5 separate regions of the Homo sapiens genome follow, and regions 2, 3, 4 and 5 are each linked to region 1. The links are contacts of gene promoters, found by promoter capture Hi-C in blood cells and fetal thymus (Javierre and others, 2016). All regions are on one chromosome and are shown on one strand. The core of a region is centred on a gene start or on the middle of the fragment in contact, and the rest is flanking DNA. Distances in the headings are between cores, read along the strand shown.

The links. Contacts are between HindIII fragments. The CHiCAGO score rates a contact against its expected background, and 5 or more counts as called.
Region 2: the fragment with the promoter of LIPT2 here is called in contact with the fragment with the promoter of UCP2 in region 1 in 1 of 17 cell types (fetal thymus); the score reaches 8.0 in fetal thymus.
Region 3: a contact is called between a fragment that was not itself captured here and the fragment with the promoter of UCP2 in region 1, in 1 of 17 cell types (endothelial precursors). The highest score is 5.4, in endothelial precursors.
Region 4: a contact is called between a fragment that was not itself captured here and the fragment with the promoter of UCP2 in region 1, in 1 of 17 cell types (endothelial precursors). The highest score is 5.8, in endothelial precursors.
Region 5: a fragment that was not itself captured here is called in contact with the fragment with the promoter of UCP2 in region 1 in 1 of 17 cell types (endothelial precursors); the score reaches 5.8 in endothelial precursors.

Annotation. Positions count from the first base shown.
Region 1 is chr11:73,981,509-73,984,200 of GRCh38, forward strand. It overlaps UCP2 (uncoupling protein 2), which reads right to left and starts at 1,335. Exons shown (of 8, transcript NM_003355.3): 1 at 1,213-1,335; 2 at 1-124. RefSeq lists silencers at 1,246-1,455, 1,756-1,915 and an enhancer at 2,172-2,672. The HindIII fragment of the contact is 10,071 bases long and covers 7-2,692 here.
Region 2 is chr11:74,492,387-74,495,078 of GRCh38, forward strand. It overlaps LIPT2 (lipoyl(octanoyl) transferase 2), which reads right to left and starts at 1,338. Exons shown (of 2, transcript NM_001144869.3): 1 at 852-1,338. The coding sequence starts at 1,317. LIPT2-AS1 (LIPT2 antisense RNA 1) reads left to right here and starts at 994. Exons shown (of 2, transcript NR_171028.1): 1 at 994-1,587. RefSeq lists silencers at 1,104-1,213, 1,324-1,573. The HindIII fragment of the contact is 1,360 bases long and covers 231-1,590 here.
Region 3 is chr11:74,445,038-74,447,729 of GRCh38, forward strand. No RefSeq gene overlaps it. Among named protein-coding and RNA genes, the nearest start is that of KCNE3, 21 kb to the right of the region's middle. The HindIII fragment of the contact is 3,014 bases long and covers 1-2,692 here.
Region 4 is chr11:74,319,424-74,322,115 of GRCh38, forward strand. The region is part of intron 3 of P4HA3-AS1 (P4HA3 antisense RNA 1); the gene reads left to right. Among named protein-coding and RNA genes, the nearest start is that of P4HA3, 9.1 kb to the left of the region's middle. The HindIII fragment of the contact is 2,023 bases long and covers 354-2,376 here.
Region 5 is chr11:74,248,138-74,250,829 of GRCh38, forward strand. All of the region lies in intron 11 of PPME1 (protein phosphatase methylesterase 1), which reads left to right. It also overlaps a transcript of P4HA3 not described here. Among named protein-coding and RNA genes, the nearest start is that of P4HA3-AS1, 62 kb to the right of the region's middle. RefSeq lists a silencer at 2,327-2,621. The HindIII fragment of the contact is 2,059 bases long and covers 310-2,368 here.

The sequences.
Region 1 (2,692 bases), core at 85-2,584:
AGATCAAGCTTCTCTAAAGGTGTCCCGTTCTTCAAAGCTGCCAGTGGCTATCATGGCCCGATCCCCTTGGTTTTCCATAGAAAATGGGTGGGAGACGAAACACCTAATGGTCATACTATGTGTCCTGTGGGTGAGCAAAGGCAGAGAGTTTAGAAAGGGCCACCTGCCCCAAGACACACAAGCCCACCCAATCCATGCCTTGGAGGGGGATGGGGAACAGGGCCCAGGGACTGGTTAAGTGCACACACTGGAAAGGGGAAAAGCAGGGCGGAAAATGAACCTAGGTACACTCCCCACCCCCACCCCACCTGCTTAATATCACAAATTGGTTCTCATCCAGACTTCTGCTTTTGTAACACTCAGTACTCTATATAAGCACCCCCTAGCACAGTCATCAGACTTTGGTGAGTGGGAGAGTTGTGAGGGGGTCACGATGGGACAGAGACTCTCCGGGAATTGGCTAGGTCCCAGGTCGGGCTGTGAGGAGGTTGGAAGGGCTGGGAGCCGGCCCTGCAGAGGCCAGATTGAGCAGCTCAAAGCCCACTAGAAAAAGCCCCCAAGCCCTGGGAAAGGCGGTGCAGGAACACTGCCTGGAGCTGCCTGGTAAGGGAGAGGTCATTGTGGTCATCGCTGATGGTCCCCATCCAAGGCAGGGCTCGGCATCGTGGTGGAAAGGAGGGAGTGAAAAGGTGGAGGCTCAAACGACAGCCAACTGAACGGGAGAGGGAAAGAACAAAAGGGACTAAGAAAAAGAGAGAAGAGAAATAAAGAACCAAGGACAGAAAGGATTAGCACAGGCCGGACCCGGAGGCTCATGCCTAAAATTCTAGGACTTTGTGAGGCCGAGGCGGGCGGATTGCTTGAGCTCAGCAGTTCGAGGCCAGCCTGGCCAACATGGCGAAACCCCATCTCTACAAAACACAAAAATTAGCCAGGCGTGGTGGCGGGCGCCTGTAATCCCAGCTACTCGGCAGGCGGATCGCTTGAACCTGGGAGGTGGAGGCTGCAGTGAGCCGAGATCGCGCCACTGCACTCCAGCCTGGGAGACAGAGCGAAAGCCTGTCTCAAACAAACAAACAAAAACAAAAAATAAAACCGAGAGAAAGAAAAGAGTACAAACTTGGGTGGGAGAGAAGGTAAATGGAAGAGCGGGCAGCGCACGCAGAACAAGCGTGGGGGGCGCAAAGGGCGCAGGGCTGGGGCCAGGCTCACCGAGCCGCAGGGAGAACACGGCAGTGCGTGCGGCTGTGTCTGTCGGCTGGCGGAGGGCGCGTCGGACGAGCCGGGCGAGCGTGGACAGTCAATCCCAAGGCGCGCGCAGCTGGGCTTCGCAGTGGGGCTCCGCGCAGGCGGCGGCGCGGCTTAAGCCTCGGGGGCGGGGCCCGGGGTGGGGCCTGCGGGGCGGGGCCGGGCCTGCCAGCTCCTACTTGGGTGCGGAGACCCTGGAGCAGCCGCCTTTCCGCGGGGACCGCCCCGCCTAGGGTTCTCTCCATGACTTTCTCCACTCCCGTTTCCGTGCGTCCCATCACCGCGTTTACTCCTTCGTTCCCCGAGATGGTCACTCCCTTGCCACTCCCCGCCTCTGCCTCACACTCTCTCGGGCCGCCAACCTCTGTGAGGATGGCAAGACTGACCGCCAGAAACAAGTCTTGTCCAGTCACACACCTCTTGCCTTCCCAGCCAGGACGGTTTCTAACAGCGTCCAGCGGGGCCGTGTCTTAAGTGCACTTCCTCTTTTATGGGCCCAGCCCCCCTACGCTGGGCAAACTACCCACCCTCCTGCGAGCGAGCGCGCGGCTGGCTCCTGCAGGGCGGGACTGGGGCCTCGCGACCGGCCTCGCTGTCGATTGGTTACAGCCGCCGCGTTGTCGGGGGAAGGAACCAATCAGAACTGCAGCAACAGGTGGCCCGGCAACCGACAACAGCCGTTGGGCTCGGCTGGGGTTCGCGCCTTCTCCCCCGGTGGAGCGGCCTGGCGTTTAGGGACCAGGACACTAAAGGCCCCGGCGGGGCGGGAGCACCCAGCGTGACCTCACGCTCCTACACACAGACAAGCAAACGGGCCGGCCCCCGCACGTGACAAGGCAGAGCCGGGCCCAGGCCAGCTGCCTGTCCAGCCCTGGGATGAGAAAAGGCGTCAGGAGATGGACCGGGCCTGGTTCGCCTTTAATTGGCTGACCCGTCCTGTGGGGGTAACTGACGCGTGAACAGCCAACAATTGGGCCCTCTGGCCGGGACAAACACGTGCGTTTGGGGAGTAGAAGAAGGCTGGTATTAACCTCCATTTTACAATGAGGAAACGGAGTCCCAAAGACGTTCAGTCATCTTCCTGATATTCACACACTTACACCCTGGTCAGGCCGGCGCCATATGTGTTTTCACCAGCAGAAGGGACTGCCAGGGAACAGCTGAGGGGACCAGAGCTGGGATGGGCCTGGATAATTATAGCGGAAAGAAAAACACGCCGAGCGCATGGTCCTGGCAGAAGCAGCGTGGAAACAGAAGTCAAGGCAGATTATTTCTGCCATGAGGAGATCTTGCCATGTAGGAAAAAAGAAAGAAAGAGAGGAAAGAAAGACAGAGAGAGAGAGAGGAAAGACAGAAAGACAAGAAAGAAAGAGAAAGAAAGAAAAGAAAAAAAAAAAGAAAAGATAAAGTTTTTTTGTGGCACTGTGAGTCTCCCTCCGCCAGG
Region 2 (2,692 bases), core at 88-2,587, 510 kb after region 1:
TTAGAGTAGATACCCTCCACTCTCCGGGCTTTGGTGTCCCTCTCAGGGCGATGAGAAAACTGGATTAGATCACCGGTTTTCAAATTTTGTTTCTGGAGAAACAAGGGATTGTACTCAGATGGGAAAAGGAAACAAATGAAAGGAAGGGGTGCGTGGCTTCAAGCAGCTGCACTCATCATGAGGATTCCAGGAAATGTCTTTTAACAGATTCCAATACTTAAAAAAAAAAAAGCTTGGGGACAGGCGCAGTGGCTCACGCCTGTAATCCCAGCATTTTGGGAGGCCGAGGCGGGCGGATCACGAGGTCAGGAGATCGTGACCATCCTGGCTAACACGGTGAAACCCCATCTCTACTAAAAATACAAAAAATTAGCCGGGCTGGTGGTGGGCGCCTGTAGCCCCAGCTACTCTGGAGGCTGAGGCAGGAGAATGGCGTGAACCCGGGAGGCGGAGCTTGCAGTGGGCCGAGATTGCGCCACTGCACTCCAGCCTGGGTGACAAAGCGAGACTCTGTCTCAAAAAAAAAAAAAAAAAAAAGTTTGAAAATTAGCACCCTTATTTGCCATGACATTGTCATTCGCAGGACGTAACCTGGCAATTCACTTCTCTTGTCTCTCCCTTAACAGAAATGCGTGTTGGACTAGATGTGAGGAGCCTTCTGCTTCTGAATATACGATATCTGAAAAGGGGCTTAAAAACTCAAACGCAGCGGGTAGCTGTGATTCAAAACCCGCGCTAGATACGCCTCCTCCCGGCCCTCACCTCCGTTGGTCCAGCCCCGTCAGACCCCGCCCCCAGGCCTCAAGCTCCGACCTCGGCTCTCAGGTACCGCCCTGCTCCGCGGCGCTCACCGATCGCGCAGATCTTGCGATCGTCTAGCCAGACGCCAGTGTAGGGCGGGGGCCGCGCGCGGGCGTCCTGCAGGCCCTGGAGCTCGCACAGGCGCACGGCGCACGCCTCCAGCGACGCTACGTGCATGCGCAAGCGCAGGCCGAGACGCCGCAGGTCGAGTACCGGGTGGCAAAGCAGCTGGCCCGGGCCGTGGAAGGTGGCCAGGCCACCGCGGCCTGTGACGCGCACCTCGGCGCCCAAGGCCCGTAGCCGCGCAGTTTCCTCGGGCGTCAGGCCGCCGCGCAGCCCGGCCGTATACACGGGCCCCGCGGGCTCGCAGAGCAGGAGCGCGCCCGCCTCAGTCCCCGACGGGGCCTCAATGCCTGGCTCGGCCTGCAGCCGCCGCAGCCAGCGGTCCTGCAGCCCCAGTAGCTCGGCGTACGGCACCCGACCCAGGCGCACCAACCGAACGGCGGGTTGCCGCATCGTGCCCACCGTTGCGTCCGCGGGGCCCCGCCCTCTCCGTGGGCCTGGGGGCGTGGCCTGAGGGGCGGGGACTCGGGGGCACACCCCGAGCCGCAGCTCCCAGGTGCGTGTTAAAAGCTGGAGGGGGGATATGTGATCCCAGGACCAAAAGCGCGGGGCCAGACTCATCGGTTCATTCAACAACCAGTATTTAGTGCCTGCTGTGTTCTGCAGGCCCTGCCATAGGCGCTTGATACAGCGGTGCATAGCGTATGAGAAAGATCTGTCCTGGTAAGCTTACATTCTTACAGCAGACGATAAGTATTTTAAGTGTTAAGTAAATAAGGTTATTTCACGTATAAGGTGTTAAATGCTATGAAAAGAAAAATAAAACAGGGTAACGTGGTGTGTCCTGTGTTGAGCCCCTGGGGGACGCAAGAGGGAGATTAGCTTGCCTACAAGGTTATTGGTGGAGGTAGGGAGAACTTAAAGATCAGCACCTGTAAGAAAGTGAAGGAAGCAGGAATTTGTAGGCAGAGGAAGAAGTTGGCCTGCAAAACAGTTGCAGCAGAGGCCTTGACCAATCCCAAGGCATGCTTGGAGCCTAGGATGACCCTTCAGAGTAGTTCCACATTAAAGCAAGGGGGCCAGAAACTCTTATCCTTGCATTGACCAGTCATGGATACAGGCTACACCTGGGGAGGAGCTGTGATTTTTTTTTTTTTTTTTTTTTTGGCAAGACTGCTTCCCTCGGTGGAGGGCGGCCCCCAGAGAAGGACTCAGTTGTGTATCATCAGTAACCAACTCCAGAAGCTGAGGGAATGACTGTCTAGGCCCTGAGGGGGTGTCTGGACCACAACATCAGCTATGTTGCAGTTAGAGTATCATTTAAACAAGTCTGAATTCAATGAATTTTTACTGAGGACTTTTCAGACACCATAGGTGTCTGAAAAACATTTCATAAACATAGACATAAAGATCCTAAGCAAATATTAGCAAATCAAATCCAGCAATTTATAAAAGGATTAATACATCATGATGAAGTAGGGTTTATCCCGGGAATGCAAGGTTGGTTTTGCATTCTGAAATCAAACAATGTAATTTACCTTAAAAGAGAAAAGCCTTCATTGGAAGAAATAATAAAAATTTTTTTTAAAGAAAAGCTATGATTATGTTAAAAAATACAGATAAATCTATTGGCAAAAATAAACACCTCTTCTGACCAAAATACTTAGCAATCTAGGAATAGAAGAGAAATTTTCCAGTCTGATGAAGGGTTCAAATTATCAATCAGGGTTTGGACAAGAGAAATCACATATGTACTATTTTAATTAAATGTTTTATTTGAGAAAATTGGACACTCATATGCAGTTGTAAGGAATAATATGGACAGATT
Region 3 (2,692 bases), core at 58-2,557, 460 kb after region 1:
CTCCGTTTGAGCTTAAATTATGTCCACTTTTGGAATTCACACAGGTGTGGGTATTCGTGATATGGCAGCCACCAGGAGTGAGCTGTTCAGGTCTCCCACAGGGAGCCTGCTGGGAGAAGAGCAGTTAGTGGCCGGCCTCAGGCAGCAGCACCTTTGGGCTCTCCTGCAGTGTTTACACCCCGGTTATGCTCACCCTGGCCTTCTCCCTGCCACTGACCAAGCTCTGCAGACGTATGAAAGTCAAGCCATTCCTGCCCAACATGGGACTCCTGTAATGGGCAGTCTCTGCTCTGGGGCTCCTCATCAGCCTGGCTGAGACTTTCTCAGAGCTGCATTGAAACCTGACGCTCCTCCTGCCTGGTCCTTCTTCCTTCCCTCTTTTTTTCGCTGGTGTCAGATCTGCATCACCATCTGAGGCTCCCGCATCTACTCCTGCTCCCTCACAGGCATTCCCCGCCCCAGTACATTTCTGGCACTTCTCACTCCATTTTGGCATCTGCTTCCTGGAGGAACCAATTGGGCATATTCGACCTAGTAGGCCCAACTCACCCAAAGTCCATTTTTTGTGAGGGCTTTGGGTCTCTCCTGGGAGAGAACTCATCTTAAGGAAAGTAAGGAGATAGGCAACATGGATCCAGTAATAGAATCTTCAAAATCAAGGAGGAATGAGCCAACATTTAACATTAGGTTTGTCATACAGATTTGTTTCTTGACCTTGCTGCAGCTCAGGCTTAGGAATTTGTAGAGGGAAACTGGGGTTAGGAAGGAATCAGCAAAATATAGAAGAGCTGCTTTACTGAAAGCAAAGGACATAAATATTACCCATTAGAAACCCATGTGACAAAGTATAGCACGATGGGGAGAGAGAGTTTCCTCACCTCCATGCATTCCATGTAACAGATGCTATGTACTGGGAACTCCAGAAGTGTCCAAGTCACCTGGCATCTCATCAATTCAGCATGTGAGAATCACTCTCCAGGCCTCTCAGAAATTAAGAGGTGCATTTCTCAGGGAACTAGGGTCCTTGGTTAATAGGCAGAGGCAATAGGTCGCAAAACTGTATATAAATTTGAATCACAGACTATTATAGCTGAAAGGAACTATAGTTCCTTTCCCTATAGATTCTGTATAGATTTCATCCATCCATATAGACTGGATGATCTATAGTAATCATCCAATCTGCTGATTTTCAAACTACATTCCATAGAGATTCTCAAAGTCCTGGGGGGAGAGTGCTACAGATGAAATAATGGTAGTTCAACAAAGGGAGAAATTAATTTAATTTGATGCAAGAAGGTATTTGATAAAAGCAAAGTGACGAGCTGATGAATTGATCAATTTAGGTCAAACAGCTAATAAATGAAGGTGCTGAGATAAGAATCCTGATTTCCCAGCTTCTTATGTGACTTTATAGGGGACTTTGGCTATTACTTTTGCAATGTGATGTCTGTGAGCAAATTACCCAGAATGGAAAGAATTTTGGGATCCTAGTGTATGTTTTGTCTGTGTTCTACTCTTGGGAGAGAGGCATATTGCATCTGCCTTATGGATGCAGCTGGGTGACTCTAAACAAGTGTGCTTTTCCTGGAGTCTGGTTTTCATTATCTTTATATCCTCAGGCTCACAAGTCAGCTGGGACAGGGATGCTGACAGAAAGGACTAGTGGAAATAATATATTTGCTTCTAATTTAGAATAAAAACAACCACACCCCACAGATCAAAACCCATGGAAACTTCCATCACCCTGGGGCAGTGTTTAGAGTGGCATTTCTGAAAGAGTTCTGAGAGACGCTTAATATGCTCCTGCAAAAGGGTCCCACATCAAATACTTTTGTGCAATGTTTCATATTATATCCCTGTCTTGGAGACTCCTGTTGCACATAAAAGTCTCTGAAGAGCTCTGCAAAAGATGTCTCTTTAATCTTAATCCAGTGTTTTATAAACTTGCTTGTTGATGGAAACTTTTATACATGGAATATCTATTATCATCATATAGAACACAGGCTTTGGAAATGCTGGGTAAAGACCACTGGCTAGGAACAAAGGAGGTCTGGTTGTGGTCTTGGCTCTGGTACTAAGTTGTGTTCCCCCCCTCCACCAAGAAGGAGTCTTGCTCTATTGCCCAGGCTGGAGTGCAGTAGGGTGAACTCAGCTCACTGCAACCTCTGCCTCCCGGATTCAAGCGATTCTCCTGTCTTAGCCTCCTGAGTAGCTGGGATCACAGGCACATGCCACTGAACCTGGCTAATTTTTTAATTTTTAATAGAGACGGTGTTTCACCAGGTTGGCCAGGCTGGTCTCGAACTCCTGACCTCATGATCTACCCACCTTGGCCTCCCAAAGTGCTGGGATTACAGGTATGAGCCCCCGTGCCCGGCCCTGATTTGCATTTTTAAACTCTTCTTTGGACTCCAGTTTCCTCATCTGCAAAAGGAGAGGGTTATAATCAGTGATCTAGAGAGAAAAAGGACTACAATTTATTGCAGACCCACTCTGTGCCAGGCTGTGGATGTGCCACCATGGCCTATGCTTACAAGGGCCCCCACACTTGGTTTAATACTCTGCTGTCACCATCTTTAAATTATCGGTAATTTTTGAACAAGGTGCCAGCATTTTCATTTTGTGCTGGGACTTGCATTTTTGCACTTGTTCCATGTGACATTATCTCTACTCTTCATATTAGTCTAGAGAG
Region 4 (2,692 bases), core at 115-2,614, 340 kb after region 1:
CAGACTAGGTTCAAGTCTTCATATTATTCAAAACACACCCTGTATTTTCCCTTGGTAGCATTTATGACAATTATAATTTTTTATTTGGGCCAGGCACAGTGGCTCACGCCTGTAAACCCAGCACTTTGGGAAGCTGAGGCAGGAGGATCACTTGAAGCCAGGAGTTCGAGACCAGCCTGGGCAACAGTGAGACCCCGTTTCCACAGAAAAGTTAAAAATTATCTGATTGTGGAGATGTGTGCCTGTAGTCCCAGCTAGGAGGCTGAGGTGGGAGGATTGCTTGAGTCCAGGAGGTTGAGGCTACAGTGAGCCAGAATTGCGCTACTGCACTCCAGTTTAGGTAACAGAGTGAAAGCTTGTCTCAGAATAATAATGATAATAATAATAATAACTATTATTATTACTTCTTATTTGTATAATTAATGGCTGTCTGCTACACTAGATCATATACTTCATATAGGTGAGATGGTTCCTAGCTGAGTGCCTGGCAATTGCAAGTACTCGTTTAAAAATATAGAATAGACTAGGCATGGAGGCTCAGGCCTGCAATCCCAACACTTTGGGAGGCCCAGGAGTTCAAGACCAGCCTGGGTAACGTAGAGAGACAAAAATAAAAATATTAGCCAGGAGTGGTGGTGCATGCCTGTGGTGCGAGCTACTTGGGAGGCTGAGAAAGGAGGTTGGGAGATCAAGGCTACAGTGAGTCATGATTGTGCCACTGCACTACAGCCTGGGCAAGGTAGCAAGACTCTGTCTCAAGAAAATAATTCTGTTTTTTTTTTTTTTTTTTTTTTTTTTTTGGAGACGGAGTCCTCCTCTGTCCCCCAGGCTGGAGTGTAGTCGCGTGATCTTGGCTCACTGCAACCTCCACCTCCCAGGTTCAAGCAATTCTCCTGCCTCAGCCTCCCAAGCAGCTGGGACTACAGGCGCCCACCACCATGCCTGGCTAATTTTTTTGTATTGTTTAGTAGAGACAGGGTTTCACCGTGTTGCCCAGGCTGGTTTTGAACTCCTGAGCTCAGGCAATCTGCCCACCTCGGCCTCCCAAAGTGTTAGGATTACAGGCGTGGGCCACCACACCCAGCCAAGAAAATAAAAATGAAAATAAGAGAATAGATAAATAAAGTAGAAAGAGCATTCAAAACAATCCTGTTAATCTCTTTATCAAGTGTCTCTAGTGCCAGTCTTCTTCCAAATCTTTTGAATTGCCTGTCCTCATCATAAGCCTATGAAGTATGTATTGTCCTGCATTTTACAGTTGAGAAAACCAGTTTATGGAAATGAAGTGACTCAGCTGCAAGACGGTAAGCCCAGGGTCCCCAGCTCTCAGTCGAGTGCTCTTTCCATTGCATCATTACTTCACATTGCTCATTATCAGTTCCTGGGTTAGCCTCCCTTCTACATCCAAGGAATATTTCCAGGGGACTCACATCACCTCAGTTTCTCCTTTATATTATGAAAGGATGAAACCAATAGATCAGTGTTTCTCAGTGTGGTCCACAGTCTATTTGCAACAGAATTATTCAGGTAAATGTGGATGTTCTTATGAAAAATTCAGATTCCAAGGTCCACCCAGATTCATTGAATCAGACTGTAAGAGGGTGGAAGACAGGCAAAGTCCAGGAAATCTGCATTTATAACAGGCTCTTGAGGTGATTCTTACACACATCCGAGTTGAGAACACTTCATTAGGTGATCTTCAAAGTTCCTTTCCGCTTTGACAGTCTTTGCTTCTAAGACATTAAGTTTGGGGGGCATGTCTTTGCATCTCTATCATCTTTTACAGAGCCTGGAACTCAATATATTTTTAGTAAACTAATACATTTGTATTCGAAAGACCCAGATTCAAGTCCCTGCTTAGGTAGGTACCAGCTGTGATTCCTTGGGAAAATTACTTAACGTTCTAGAAATATCATTTTTAAGATGGAAATAATAACAATCTCTATCCTGGCTGCCAACATCTGATGTGGAAGATAAATTAAATCATGTTTGTGAAAGCTGTTATGGTGGTTCCAAGTTGAAGAACCACTACAGGCATAAAGTGGGCACCAAGCAGGGGTTACTAAGTCCTTCAGACTCACGGGTGGCTCACATACAGCTCTCTCCAGTGGACTGAATGGGGAGCTTATTAAAACACAAAATAAAACCACTACCACCTTTGAAAAATCACATTTCCATTCGAAGTAGGTAGAGTCTTTCCATGGAAATAACGTGATTTTTTAAGACTCCGAGGCATTGCCACAGTGACCCCTAGTGGAGCTTATAGGCCAGCTCAAACCCACCATCCTAGTCCCACATTTGCTGTTGGCTTAGCGGAGAGATCAATTTATTAATTCAATACATCTGTTCTTCACATAGGCTAGGAAATTTTTGTGAAGCTTCTCTTTGTCCTCAGAGTCTAGCATTCATTCATCCATTCAATTATTACTGAGCATCCCGGGTGCCAGCTGCTGTGCTTGGCCCCAGAGGGACCCAGCAGACATTGGGATCCTCACCCTCAGAGCCAGGTGGGGACAAGTTAAGTAGTGGAGACAGAGAAGCAAACAGCCAACAACAAGAGTGACACATGCTCCAAAAGAGGAAGTGCACGGAACTACGGAAGCCACTTTCTTTGGCAAAATCTCAATGATCTGTTTTGAGAATAAGCATAGCACATTGAGGGATGAATGGCAAAAATGAGGCATGAAGTGTA
Region 5 (2,692 bases), core at 89-2,588, 270 kb after region 1:
GGGGGCTCTTGCTTTAGTACGGGTAAAAGACTCAGTGAAGGTGAAGCCAGTAGGCATACAACTTTTGGGTTATGGGAAGAAGAGGTGCCAACTCCAAGACCAAAGTTTCAGGCTCAGGCAGAATCTGTTCTAGACCTTTCTTCCCTACTTACTCTCCCTGGACAATTTCATGGCTTCCATTTATATATTGATGACTCCCAAAGCTAAACATCCACCTCACCCCTCTCTCCTGAGATCCAGTCCTAGCCTATGTAGCAAACCTGCTGGATATCTCATGGGCCTCTCAAACTGTTCTTTTAGCTATCCTCAAGCTTTCCACAGCAAAAGGAGCTATATTCTCTCATAATAGTTGTTCAAAGGCTCTCACATATAAAACTCTGGTCCCAGACCTTCATGGCTTTGCCTTCCTTTAACTACATTGTATCCTGAGGCCTAGAATAGGACTATGAGCTGGGACTGTGTGATTTTTTTTCCATGGCACTGATGTTGGTAATTATGGGCTTAGACACTTATTTAAGTAGATGCTTATAAATGTCTAAGCCCGTAATTACCAACATGAGTGCCATGAAATTGAATCTAAGACACTTAAGTTCAATTCAAGAAACCTTTCCTAGGCACCCTTTCTGTGCAAGACCTATGCATGATGCTGGGCAGACAGAAGAATCAGATATGGCCCCTGAGACTGCCTGAAGGCAGTTGACATGGACTGGGATAGCATTTGAAATCATTGTTGATCACCAGCCTTGGAATCAGACAATCCTGGGTTTGAATCACTGTTAATAGTTTTGCGGTATGAGTGAATTCCTAACTTATTTAATTTTGAGTTTCTTCATCTGTGAAATGGAGATAATGATATATCTCAGTACAGTTACATGAAGTTTAAATGAAAAAAATGCGGGTAGTCTAACAAATGATGCCTTTCATTATATTCAGGAAGTAATCACGATTCCTTATGAGATGTCCTCCTGTTTCCTCAATATGGATTATATCAAGACCACCTTCTGGTTTAAAGAAAGCCTCCTATGAGTATAGAGAGTAAATGGCGAGGATAAGGAACATTCCACAGAACAAAGGGAAATGGCTAAGGCTGCATAGATTCCAAACCACAGCTTTGCCAGCACTGTGTTCAAACCAACTGACTTAGTTATGAAATCCTGGAAAACTACCACCTATTCATAGTACCCCTTGGGTAAATAATTTAGGCTCTCTGAACCTAAGGCTCCTAATCTGTGCAATGGGAGAGAAGAGTTTGGAAATATTCCCACCTCATAGAATAATCATGAGGATTACCCATGAACATGTTATTTTATGTGTACCTGGCACAGTGTTGTTGGTGTATGTGAGTTCTCTCTGATTATACCTACTCTTCCAAAGAGGAAGGACAAATGCGTCCCTAGTCATCAGAGCTGATCTAACAGAAAGAACAGGGAGATTGGAGTTGTAAGTTTTGGATCTAGTCATTTGTTCATCATTCATTCGCTAAAGACTTAAGCATCTACTCAGTGCCCTACCCTGTGTTAGGTCTTATTAGGGATATAGAGCAAGTAATAACACCATTGTCCCCTGTTCTTATGGAAATGACACACTCCTGGGGAGGCAAGCACCAGTGGCATGTAAAATGTAAACTTACTTGAAACTTACAAGAGGGCCATGTGCTGCTCTGTGTTTGGATCCAAGTGCATTAACAACTTTAGGAGCTAGAAGGGAGAGGTGACTAGGCTTGAGCACCCAGAGAGAGGCAGCTTACTGCAGGAGGAGGGGCACAGGATGGACTTTACTAAATGGGATCATCTTATTCCTCCACTAATTAATGAAGTGGCCTTGGGCAGGTTACTTCACTAATCATGGCCTCAGTTTCATCATCTCAGAAAAGAATTTCAGTATTTTTGTGCTTAATTGTATAGGGTAGATTTTGAGAATCAACTTTAAAAATGGATAGAAGAATACACTGAAAACTTTTGAATCCTGCGTAACTGGGGTAAGAACCACAGGATGTAATGACCAGAAGAACTTTCAAGCCCATTCCTTTATTTTATAAATAGAGAATCTGAGGCTGAGAAAATCTGCTGTCTCTACTTATGGGGGCTCTGGGTCTCATATCCTTTAGTCTCCTTAGGGATCTTCTTTATCAGTCATCGCTGTTCATTCTCAATCATTGTCGCATTAGTTACGAGCTTACAGTGTTCTGTAAGACAGTATGAGAAAGTGCTTAGTACAATGCCTGGCACATGCTTAAGTGCTCAGATGGTAACTTATTATTGTAATAATACATTTTGAATCCTTAACATAGCTTACAAAATCCTTAATGGTTTGGCCCCTGCTTACCTCTCCAGCCTTATTGTTAACCACTCTCATAAGCACCATGCCAAGCTTCTTGTATTCCAAGCCATTTCAAGCCTTCCTTCCTTCCTGGTTCCCTCTTGGATTGTGAAGTTCCCTTTCTTATGCTCTTACAGCCCCATGTAGCCAGTTTTATCATAGGAATGACATGCTGCATTAAAATGTTGGTTTTTGTGTTTTACTCCCCTACTGGACTGTAAATCCCCTGAGGACAAGAACTGTTTCTTCTATGTGTCTCTGGCCCACAGTAAATGTACACTAAATAGGACAGAAGGAAAAAGTGAAGGGAAATGATTGGCGCAAGGTTACAATTACTTGTATTACCATCCTCAGCAAGACTTGATAATTGGGT